Regions from separate parts of the Homo sapiens genome. Here region 2 is linked to region 1. The links are contacts of gene promoters, found by promoter capture Hi-C in blood cells and fetal thymus (Javierre and others, 2016). All regions are on one chromosome and are shown on one strand. Each heading gives the region's core, a stretch centred on a gene start or on the middle of the fragment in contact. The rest is flanking DNA. Distances are from core to core; before and after follow the strand shown. Region 1 holds the start of METTL14 (methyltransferase 14, N6-adenosine-methyltransferase non-catalytic subunit). Region 2 overlaps BBS7 (Bardet-Biedl syndrome 7).

The links. Contacts are between HindIII fragments. The CHiCAGO score rates a contact against its expected background, and 5 or more counts as called.
Region 2: a contact is called between a fragment that was not itself captured here and the fragment with the promoter of METTL14 in region 1, in 1 of 17 cell types (activated CD4 T cells). The highest score is 5.7, in activated CD4 T cells.

What each region holds. Positions count from the first base shown.
Region 1 is chr4:118,683,687-118,688,802 of GRCh38, reverse strand. METTL14 (methyltransferase 14, N6-adenosine-methyltransferase non-catalytic subunit) reads right to left here and starts at 3,411. Exons shown (of 11, transcript NM_020961.4): 1 at 3,203-3,411; 2 at 792-880. The coding sequence starts at 3,268. METTL14-DT (METTL14 divergent transcript) reads left to right here and starts at 3,462. Exons shown (of 7, transcript NR_125930.1): 1 at 3,462-3,498; 2 at 4,336-4,395. RefSeq lists enhancers at 2,873-3,012, 3,193-3,452. The HindIII fragment of the contact is 9,570 bases long and covers 2,960-5,116 here.
Region 2 is chr4:121,823,010-121,827,895 of GRCh38, reverse strand. BBS7 (Bardet-Biedl syndrome 7) reads left to right here. Exons shown (of 19, transcript NM_176824.3): 19 at 1,903-3,567. The coding sequence ends at 2,036. CCNA2 (cyclin A2) reads left to right here and starts at 4,013. Exons shown (of 8, transcript NM_001237.5): 1 at 4,013-4,480. The coding sequence starts at 4,268. RefSeq lists enhancers at 4,165-4,234, 4,425-4,474. The HindIII fragment of the contact is 1,621 bases long and covers 1,379-2,999 here.

The sequences.
Region 1 (5,116 bases), core at 2,162-4,661:
ACTGGGGAGGCTGAGGCAGGAGAATTGCTTCAACCCTGGAGGCGGAGGTTGCAGTGAGCCGAGATTGCGCCACTGCACTCAAGCCTGGTGACAGAGCGAGACTCTATTTCCAAAAAAATGTTTAAATATACTTGTTTATTTATAGTATATATGCTAATTCTTAGTCTAACATTCCATTTTCTAAGTACTTTACAAATGGGAACTTACTATCCTCAGAAAATAAATATTTTATAATTAATGAACTGACAATAAAAACCATTGTGTCTAAAATCATTATTTTGATGCTTTTCTTAATACACTGCATACCTACCTAGGGTTATTTATTAAAACAGTAATCCTTTCACATTTTTTTTTTTTTTTTGAGACGGAGTCTCACTCTGTCTCCCAGGCTGCAGTGCAGTGGCACAATCTTGGCTCAGCTCACTACAATCTCCGCCTCCCGGTTTCAAGCAATTCTACTGCCTAAGGCTCCCGAGTAGCGGGGATTACAGGAGCCCGCCACCATGTCTGGCTAATTTTTGTATTTTTAGTAGAGATGGGATTTCACCATGTTGGCCAGACTGGCCTCGAACTCCCGACTTCCTGGGCTCAAGTGATCCACCTGCCTCGGCACAGTGGCTCATATCTGTAATCTCAGCACTTTGGGAGGCCAAGGCAGGTGTACCACTTGAGCCCAGGAGTCAAGGCTGCAGTGAGCCATAATCATGCTACTGTACTCCAGCCTATCCAGCCTAAGCAACAGAGTGAAACCCTGTCTCAAAAAAAAAAAAAAAAAGAATTATCTGACTGACCTGCAAGTTTCTCTTGTTTCAGCAATTTCTCTCTGCTCATCTTTGCTATTTAACACGGCACCAATGCTGTCGGCACTTTCAGCTCCCAACTGAGAAAAGACAAAATCAGAAATTAGATTGCAATGCACTGGATAGCCTTTCTGGGCATTTGTAGCAGCATTTAATACATTAAATACTTAAAAAACAAAAACACCTTAATTCACACACACACACACACACACAAAACAATGAATTAATCAGCTTGCAAGACAAACTGGAAAAACTCTGGAAAAAAACCGCATTAATTAAGATGAGTTTGACAGCTGGCAAAACATTTTATGCTTTCAGTTATACAGCGGCTCCTTGATTTATGATGAGGTTATGTCCTGATAAACCCATTGTAAGTTGAAAGTAAATCTGTTTCAAAATAAACGTTGTAAGTGTGTTTTCAAGTTACAATATTTTCCACTTATGATGGGTTTATCAGAACACAACTCCACCGTAAGTCAATGAGCAGCCTGGATGCCTATCACTCTCAAACCATCATAAAGTCAATTGTTAAGTCAAATGATAGTAAGTCTGGAACCATCTGTATTTGAAAATAAGACACTTTAGCCAATTTCCTGTGAAGCAATACACACGATTTAATATAAAATGAGCATTCCAAATCTGAAAATCCAAAATCCAAAACGCTCCAAAATCTGGAACTTTTTGAGTACTGACATGACATTCAAAGGAAATGGTCACTGAAGCATTCCGATTTTGAGTTTTGGTATTTGGCATGCTCAACCAGTAAGTAATATGCAAATATTCCAAATCCTGAAAAAAATCTGAAATCCAAAACACTTCTGGCCCAAGCATTTCAGATAAGAGATATTCAACCTGCAATAGCAATAACTAAAAAAGGCAGATAAGACAGTGTTTGCACAGGGTTGTGGGTACCATGTTAAACATTTTGTAGGCATCAGCTTATATAACTTATTTATTCTATGCTCTAATAAAAATCGATCCAGTTTTACTCAAGCTAAGTCTTACTATTTATAGACACAAGGCTGAACTTTACTACCTTAAAATGGTAACATAAATTTTGTTTGGCAGTTTGGAAAATTTTGCAAAATACAAACAAATGTAAACAAATAATGGTTATAAGGCTGGCTAAGTAGAGTGCAACCAATTCATAAAAGACTTTAAAAGGTAGAGCCCCTGGCATCTGCTGAGTGTAAAACACTAAACAAATAATTGTCCTATGAATGTATATTGAGTCAAATAGAAGTTTGAATTCAATATTAAGGAGTAAAACGTCTTCTGTGGTAGCAACAAAGAGCTACTTAACATTTTTGAAGATAATACGATAAAAGAAGTTGGCGAAAAGAAGACTTAGAAAGGATACTTGATTTGCCCAAGATCGTAATGCCAGCGGGATAAGGAACAAAGGAACAAATCTGACTCCAAGTTTCCACGGTTTTAGCCATATTCCACAAATCTGTTCATCAGACCATAAAGAGGATAGGTTTCAGAAGTCCATTTACTAAAACCAAGTTTCATTACTGAAAAATAACTGCAAGATGACTAATTACACTCTATGAGCATTGCTCCTATCACTTTTACTGATCTGAATAGTAGAATGGAAAATACAGCCTCGATTTTAAGTAGAACTGTGCACAATCTGTATTTTCTGCATGTGCACTCTACTAATCAGCAAATGTTAACTTACTCATACACAAGAAAGAAGTGAAGGACAATGGTTTAGAAGACAAGCTTTGGGGAGACAAACCTAGGTTCTATTTCCCAGCAGAGAAGTGAGCGACCAGGAGTAAAATTCCTTAACGTATGGAGCCTTTTTCATTACTTGATAAGTGAAGGTAATAATACCTGTTTCAGGAGATTATTGTGACTAACACAGAGTAAGATTTCAAATATTAACTGTGGATGTGACAAGGATACTCTATATAAGATGCAGAATCTAAAATTTACACTCAGGCTACTTCCAGTGTTGTCTTCAGAAAGATGTCAAAGAAAATACTGTAAACGTATTTCATAATGAAACCACAATCTCAAGAATTTGGGGCTGACGACGAAGAAAAGAAAGAAATAGATGACCATTTAATAGTGAAGAGAAATGTAGGGGATAACATGACACTCATCCTGGCGTGAACATGCCAGACACTCGGTGGGAGTTCCACAAAGCTTAAAGGCTAATCCTGGCATTCGGTTTAGCACCACAAAGACCGCGGAAGGAACTGGAAAAACATTCGGGACACCGCGAAAATTGAGAACTACAAAGGCAGAACCAGGGATCAAGATCGCAGGACCAGAAAGGCCTTAACAGCGGCAGGTAGAGAAGGGACAGAAAAAGGCGGGGTGTGGAGGGAGGAGGCGGCCGCGCACTCGCATTCTCGATCCCTCCCACAGGGGACACCAGGGCCGCGGACCTGCTGCGCGAGGAGCTGTCGCCGTAACTTCTGCCGCTCCCGGATCTCCTGCAAGCGGCTATCCATGTTCCAACTCCGGCTTTTCACTATCCCGAGTACTTGTCAATCTCCAGTGAACTCTTATCCAACCTTTCTTCCGAGTCTGTGGAACAAAATTCACCGGGAGCTTACGAACAGAGTATCCTCATAGCTTTCCTCAGTAGAGACTTCCGGCGCGGCCGGAATTGGCTCGCTTGGCCCGGAAGTCCCGCCTCCTTCTGGACGCTTGCTATGTGACGCCACTTGGAAGGGACCCAGTAAGGGATCTGTTGCGCCACAGGGGTCTCCAGGGCCCTCGCAGGTTGGGGTGGTCTGAGCTAGTCTGAAGGAGGACAGTCAGCTGACTTCTCCTTTATCTCTCTTTCCCAGGATAGCAGGTTCCCTTGGTGTATTACAGTTTCTGAAGTGTTGATTCCCTTTTCAATTGATTCCACAGATGACAGTCCTGACGTTTAAAAAATTGCCAGATAACCTTTAATTTTTTTTTTTTTAACAGAACACAAACTTAAGCCAGATTGCCTAGGATTGAACCTTGGCCTCTCACTTCCTAGACGAGTGGCCTTGGCTAGTTAACCACCTTCGTGAGCCTCAGTTTTGTCATCTGTAAAATGGGAGTCATAAGTGTCTACCTCACAGAGCTGTGATTGAAAGGATAAATAGCACCTTGCACATAGCGGTGTAGAAGTGCTTGTTATTGTTAATATTTTATTTACCTTCACGCAGGTAACAGCCACAACATCTGCCCACTCTTCCCCACACCTTACTGTCCCTTGAAATGTTTCCCATTTTACTATAGTATGCATTTTTTGGCTTCTTCCCTTTAGGGAAATGAGTATGTGATAGTAAAGCGTGTCTTGGTTTATGTCCTAGGAGTCAGAAGCTAAGAGACTCCTTTTTGTGCTTGTACATTTGTCTTAACTGAAAATAACCCAAGGATAAGGAAACAAATAGCTTCCTGAAATTACTCGGATTGCGGGGGTGAGGGGTGAGGGCTGGGGGGTGGTGATTCTGTCTTCATAGGATGGCAGCAAAGGCCAAAGTCTTATTTGAGTTATTACCATTATTATTCACCACACTTGCCATCTTATTTCAAGCCTACAGTGGCGGAAGTGGAGTAAGACATCATGTTGCCTCAAGTTTAATTGGAAATCGCGGTAAGTACTTAACAAAATTAGTAATAAGTCTGTTCTTTCAGAGTAGATTTAATTTTCAGAAATAATATTAAGTCATCCAGATCAAAACCAGTTGAGTCAGGCTGGGCCAAAAGTGGGCAAGACTAGATTCTACTTAGTCATGCCCACTTTTATAGAAATAATTATAATGTATTTCCGAAGAACTAGGTCTGAAAGACAATTTTGAACAAGTAGTCCTAAACAATTCCTTGAGTAATGTCAGCACTACTTGGATACTGTAAAATATTTATGTCCATATGAGTTAAAGTGTATTTCTTTAAAAATCAGTTGTATTATCTGGCAATCATTTAAGTTGAATACTGATTTAAATTTTACCAATGGTGAGAATAGGCAATTATTCACTTAAATATCTGTTGATATTGATTGAGCATTTTATATGGCAAGCACTGTGATAGGCCCTAGAGTCTATAAAGTCTGTCAAAGATTAAAAACTAAAGTCGGTTTTTCTTTATGAGTTTACTGTCTAATGGAGGATTTTTCTTTTTCCTGATAAGTTGCTATGCAGGTTACTTGCTTGTAATCTTTGAACCCCATACTCACCTACCCTCTGCTTCGAGATGATGGCTAGGCAGGGAGTCCACAAACTACATTTCCCAGCCTTCCTTGTTAGATGGCTTCCTGTAAGACTCTGCCCACAGGAGGCACAGGCAGGAAATCAAAAGGTGGAACATGGGAAAGCTAT
Region 2 (4,886 bases), core at 940-3,439, 3.1 Mb before region 1:
TTAATCTATATATATGAACAAACCTGGTATAAAATGAATGTAATCTATGAACCTTTAGAGCTTAGACTGTATTTCACACAAATAATTGTCATGTTTTGTTGCTATTGTGAATTATAAAAATGCAGCATTTAAAATTTTTAAGGCAAAATTTAATAAAGGATATACAGTATTTGTGTTGTGTCAATTTATAGTTCAAAACTTTGGTGGTGAGAAGCTGAATGTTTCACAAATTGTATTGAAACAGAGTAAGGGAGGTGAGGAGAGGGAAAGAAGGAGTGAGGAAGGAAGAAACAGCTTAAGAAAAACAATTTTGTTAGCAATCTTTACATAAGACCTGTTGTATATAGCACACTATTTACACTGTCTTCATAATCAGGTGAGATATTTAATCCTTACAATAGCTCTGCAAGGTAGGTGGTATTATCTTCATTTTTCATATGCTTTAACTGAAATCTGAGTCTAAGGAATTTGTTGTCACCTAGCAAGTTAGTGATCATGCCTGCATTAGAATCTTCTCACCCCAAAATGCATGCCTTTTACACTATGCCAAGCCTTCCATAGTCACTGTAGAGCCAATTGGTATCACTAGTACACATGGATCCTTAAGCCTGCCTACTGAATTTTTTATTACATATCCAGAGACTTTCTCACAAACTGTAGCTATATTTAATGTCTTAACCTTTATTACATGACAAGCACATGATCTCTTTTATCCTTATAATAACTTATGAGATTGGCTGTACATAATATCACTGATTGCAAAATCCAGACAGCTTTGTAAACCAAAGTTTTTTTCATAAATAATTTGACAGCAAAATCTTGACTTAATCTGAATTAATTTAATAACAAAATCTGACTTAAACTGACATGAGGTTTTATATATATTTTTTGTTTGTTTGTTTGTTTGTTTTTTGAGACAGAGTCTCGCTTGGTCTCCCAGGCTGGAGTCAGTGGCGCGATCTCGGCTTACTGCAGCCTCTGCCCCCTGGGTTCAAGCAATTCTCCTGCCTCAGCCTCCTGAGTAGCTGCGATTACAGGTGTGCGCCACCATGCCCAGCTAATTTTTTTGTACTTTTAGTAGAGACAGGGTTTCACCATATTGGCCAGGCTGGTCTCCAACCCCTGACTTCGTGATCTGCCCACCTCAGCCTCCCAAAGTGCTGGGATTACAGGCATGAGCCACCGTGCCCAGCCCAAGGTTATATCTTTTTTATTCCACTTAGTGCAAATATTCATCCGTATATTTTGTGCCAGAAATAGTACTATGTTTTGCTATTGGATGCTGCTACTCAGTCCCCTTGGGGTTAATACCATAGTATATTCCTTTCATTATCTTCCTAAAATAGGAAAAATTCTGAAATACATCTTGCATCAAGCTTTTTGGATAAAGGATTGACAGCTTGAATTATTCCTGTTTTACATATGAGAAAACTCAAGGTGAAATGATTTGCCCAGATCTTTGAACCTAGGACTATTTGCCTTCAAGTCAAATCCCAAGAATGGTCAACATATAGGTGGAATATTTTAATTCAGATAAGCTGTTAAAAATAGAATCTGCCTAGACTATGTCAAAATGGTCAGCTTGGTGGAAAAAATATACCACTTGTTGTGATGTTATATATACTGATAGCAGTTCAAAAATGGCCAGTAGTTGATTGTCTGAATTAATAGCTTGTAATCAATTGTTAAGAGGGTTATTAGGCAGATGATTTATATCTTGAAACTTGTTTTAAAATCCCCCCAAAATGACTATTTTTAAAAACATGGCTTTTAGGTTTGTGTATGTTAAATCATGGAATTACAGGTGCTTAAAAATAGATTATCAAGCAATTACTTTAGTGAAATACTGTGTCATTAAATATAACTAATCACTGACAGGAAATTTATGTTTTTTCTTTAAAGGCATGATCACTGATCTTTTCATAGATAAATTTAAGTTTAAAGGCACCAATGTAAAAACTAAAGTACCCCTTCTATTGGAAATTCTGGACAGTTATGACCAAAATGCATTGATTTCATTCTTCGATGCAGCATGACATACAAATAAGGTAAAGTCCCAAAGAAGTGGTCTGTTTAAATGAAAAATGTTAAAAGAGAATTAGAAGTTAACTGTGTATGTACTTTAATTTCAAATGCTTTTTTATATCTAAAAATATTTGAGATATAATGGCTTTTTAAAGTAATGCTTCTATTTCTTTTGACAAATTGAACTTTCTAAAACTAAAAGAGTCTTTTTATTTTTAAAACACAAGTAGAATGATTTAAATAGGATTTTAATGAATTTTTGGCAAGTGGCTGTTTTAATTTTTAAATTGAGAAGTAATATGTGGAAAATTAAAATATATTCAAATGTATTACAAGGTACATAAACACATAAACATGTAGACCGCTTTATAGGCTTCAAAATGTATTTTTATATATTACCTTATTTGATCTTCACAACTGTTGTAAAATTTGTCAAATCATATAAGAAAACTGATTCTCAGTGAAATTTTGTGATTAAGAGGACATGCTAATATTTTGTAAAGCTGGGACCAGAACCCAAGTACTGGTACTTGCTTTGTGTCCTGGTTACTATGTATGTTGCCAGCTAGTGGAAATAACCTACCAATTGTTTTTTCTAGGAGATAGGATTGATTTGCAACTGATATTCCTTTTGCTTGGTAGTGTTTTATGACTCTGCTGCAGTTTGTGGAAATGCTGGACTTGGCTCAGTGCTATAAATTGTAGCCAGGAAATAAGAAGAGCTTACACAGAGTCGGGGGATCTTAATTAGACATGCTGTAACCAGTGGAGCTATTCAGCGTGCTTCAAGTGAAGAGTGCAGAAATAGTGATGCCATCTTAGATTTTCCTACACTAGTATCTTCTAGATCTCTTTTTATCATATATGACATTAAGGCTACAGAAGTTTTGTGCATTAATCTTAATTCATATTTATTAATTTCAAGGGAATATTGAAAGGTTTTAAAATGGCATACAGATAATGGAAAATAAGCTTTATGTTTCAAGAAGGGCAGACTCACGAATTTTTTAGAAAACAGTGCTTCTTAATGATATGCTATTATACTTATTAGTTATGTGCAAGCTTTGTATATTCTTATATTTATATATAAATATAAAAATTTGTTAAAGGCACGTATAGTTAAGAGAGTTTTATTTTAATAAGGTCATATTGTTTTTACTATGTTTAAAAAACTTTACTTCTGAAAGGAACATAATTATATCTAGGTCACTAGAACGTCATTGTGTTTTTTGTTGGTTGCCACAGCTTGGGGAAAAATAGAAAAAAATTAATGACTGTATTTGAATATTTTGTAATGCACTGCTATTTATTATATATATCAACAGTAGTTCAAGGTGCCATCTTAAATTAATTGCATCTTCATTAGGAAAAATAAAAAGCATAAAACACAATTTCTGGTTACTATGAATAAACGCCTAAATGTTAAGATGACATTACAGTCTTGACACTTGAGTACTGTATTACTATGTGAGCTCCGTGTTAAATAATTTATGCACATTATTTAATCCTAACAACCATATGACTGTAGTTATTAGTCCCTATTAACACATAAGAAAACGGAGAATCGGAGATACTGAAAAACGTGCCCCAGATTTTAGACCTTTGGAAAAAGTCACTTAAGCTAACTAGACGTCCCAGAGCTAAAGGCTGGGCAACCCAAATGATAGTCGCCAAAGTTTAATTCCGTTTAATTCCCTAAAAGGCTTAGAGTCAGCCTTCGGACAGCCTCGCTCACTAGGTGGCTCAGCTTAAAATAATCGGAAGCGTCGGGCCCTAAATCCTACCTCTCCCCGCCCCGCGCAGGCGTTTTCTCCCGCCCCAGCCAGTTTGTTTCTCCCTCCTGCCCCGCCCCTGCTCAGTTTCCTTTGGTTTACCCTTCACTCGCCTGCGACCCTGTCGCCTTGAATGACGTCAAGGCCGCGAGCGCTTTCATTGGTCCATTTCAATAGTCGCGGGATACTTGAACTGCAAGAACAGCCGCCGCTCCGGCGGGCTGCTCGCTGCATCTCTGGGCGTCTTTGGCTCGCCACGCTGGGCAGTGCCTGCCTGCGCCTTTCGCAACCTCCTCGGCCCTGCGTGGTCTCGAGCTGGGTGAGCGAGCGGGCGGGCTGGTAGGCTGGCCTGGGCTGCGACCGGCGGCTACGACTATTCTTTGGCCGGGTCGGTGCGAGTGGTCGGCTGGGCAGAGTGCACGCTGCTTGGCGCCGCAGGCTGATCCCGCCGTCCACTCCCGGGAGCAGTGATGTTGGGCAACTCTGCGCCGGGGCCTGCGACCCGCGAGGCGGGCTCGGCGCTGCTAGCATTGCAGCAGACGGCGCTCCAAGAGGACCAGGAGAATATCAACCCGGAAAAGGCAGCGCCCGTCCAACAACCGCGGACCCGGGCCGCGCTGGCGGTACTGAAGTCCGGGAACCCGCGGGGTCTAGCGCAGCAGCAGAGGCCGAAGACGAGACGGGTAAAGGGATGCGGGATATCTGCAGGAGGGTGGGTCGAGCAGGGTTTGGCATTGGCTTAGCAGGCAGAGAAGAGTGGCGAGAAGGCATGTCCTGGGCTTTTGGAAGGGGGCCAGGGTCTGGAGTGCAGTTGGTGCTGGTGTGTGGTTTGCCACAGTAGGAGTTCTCCCATATTAGCATCAGGACCCCGCCAACACTGTGTGTATGCTGCCGGTCTGCTCTCTATAGGGGGCATCTGCCTGTACATAATGGGGTCAAACCAAGCTCTAAAACGTGTAGTCTTCGCTCAGCTCCGCGCCTTTCTCTCCACTTTTAAACCCCAGGCACTGCTGTAGGACTCTGACCCCTATCCTCCTCACGCTTAAGAGATGACCTCTACTTTAGAAAAGCGTGTACAAAATACTTTGC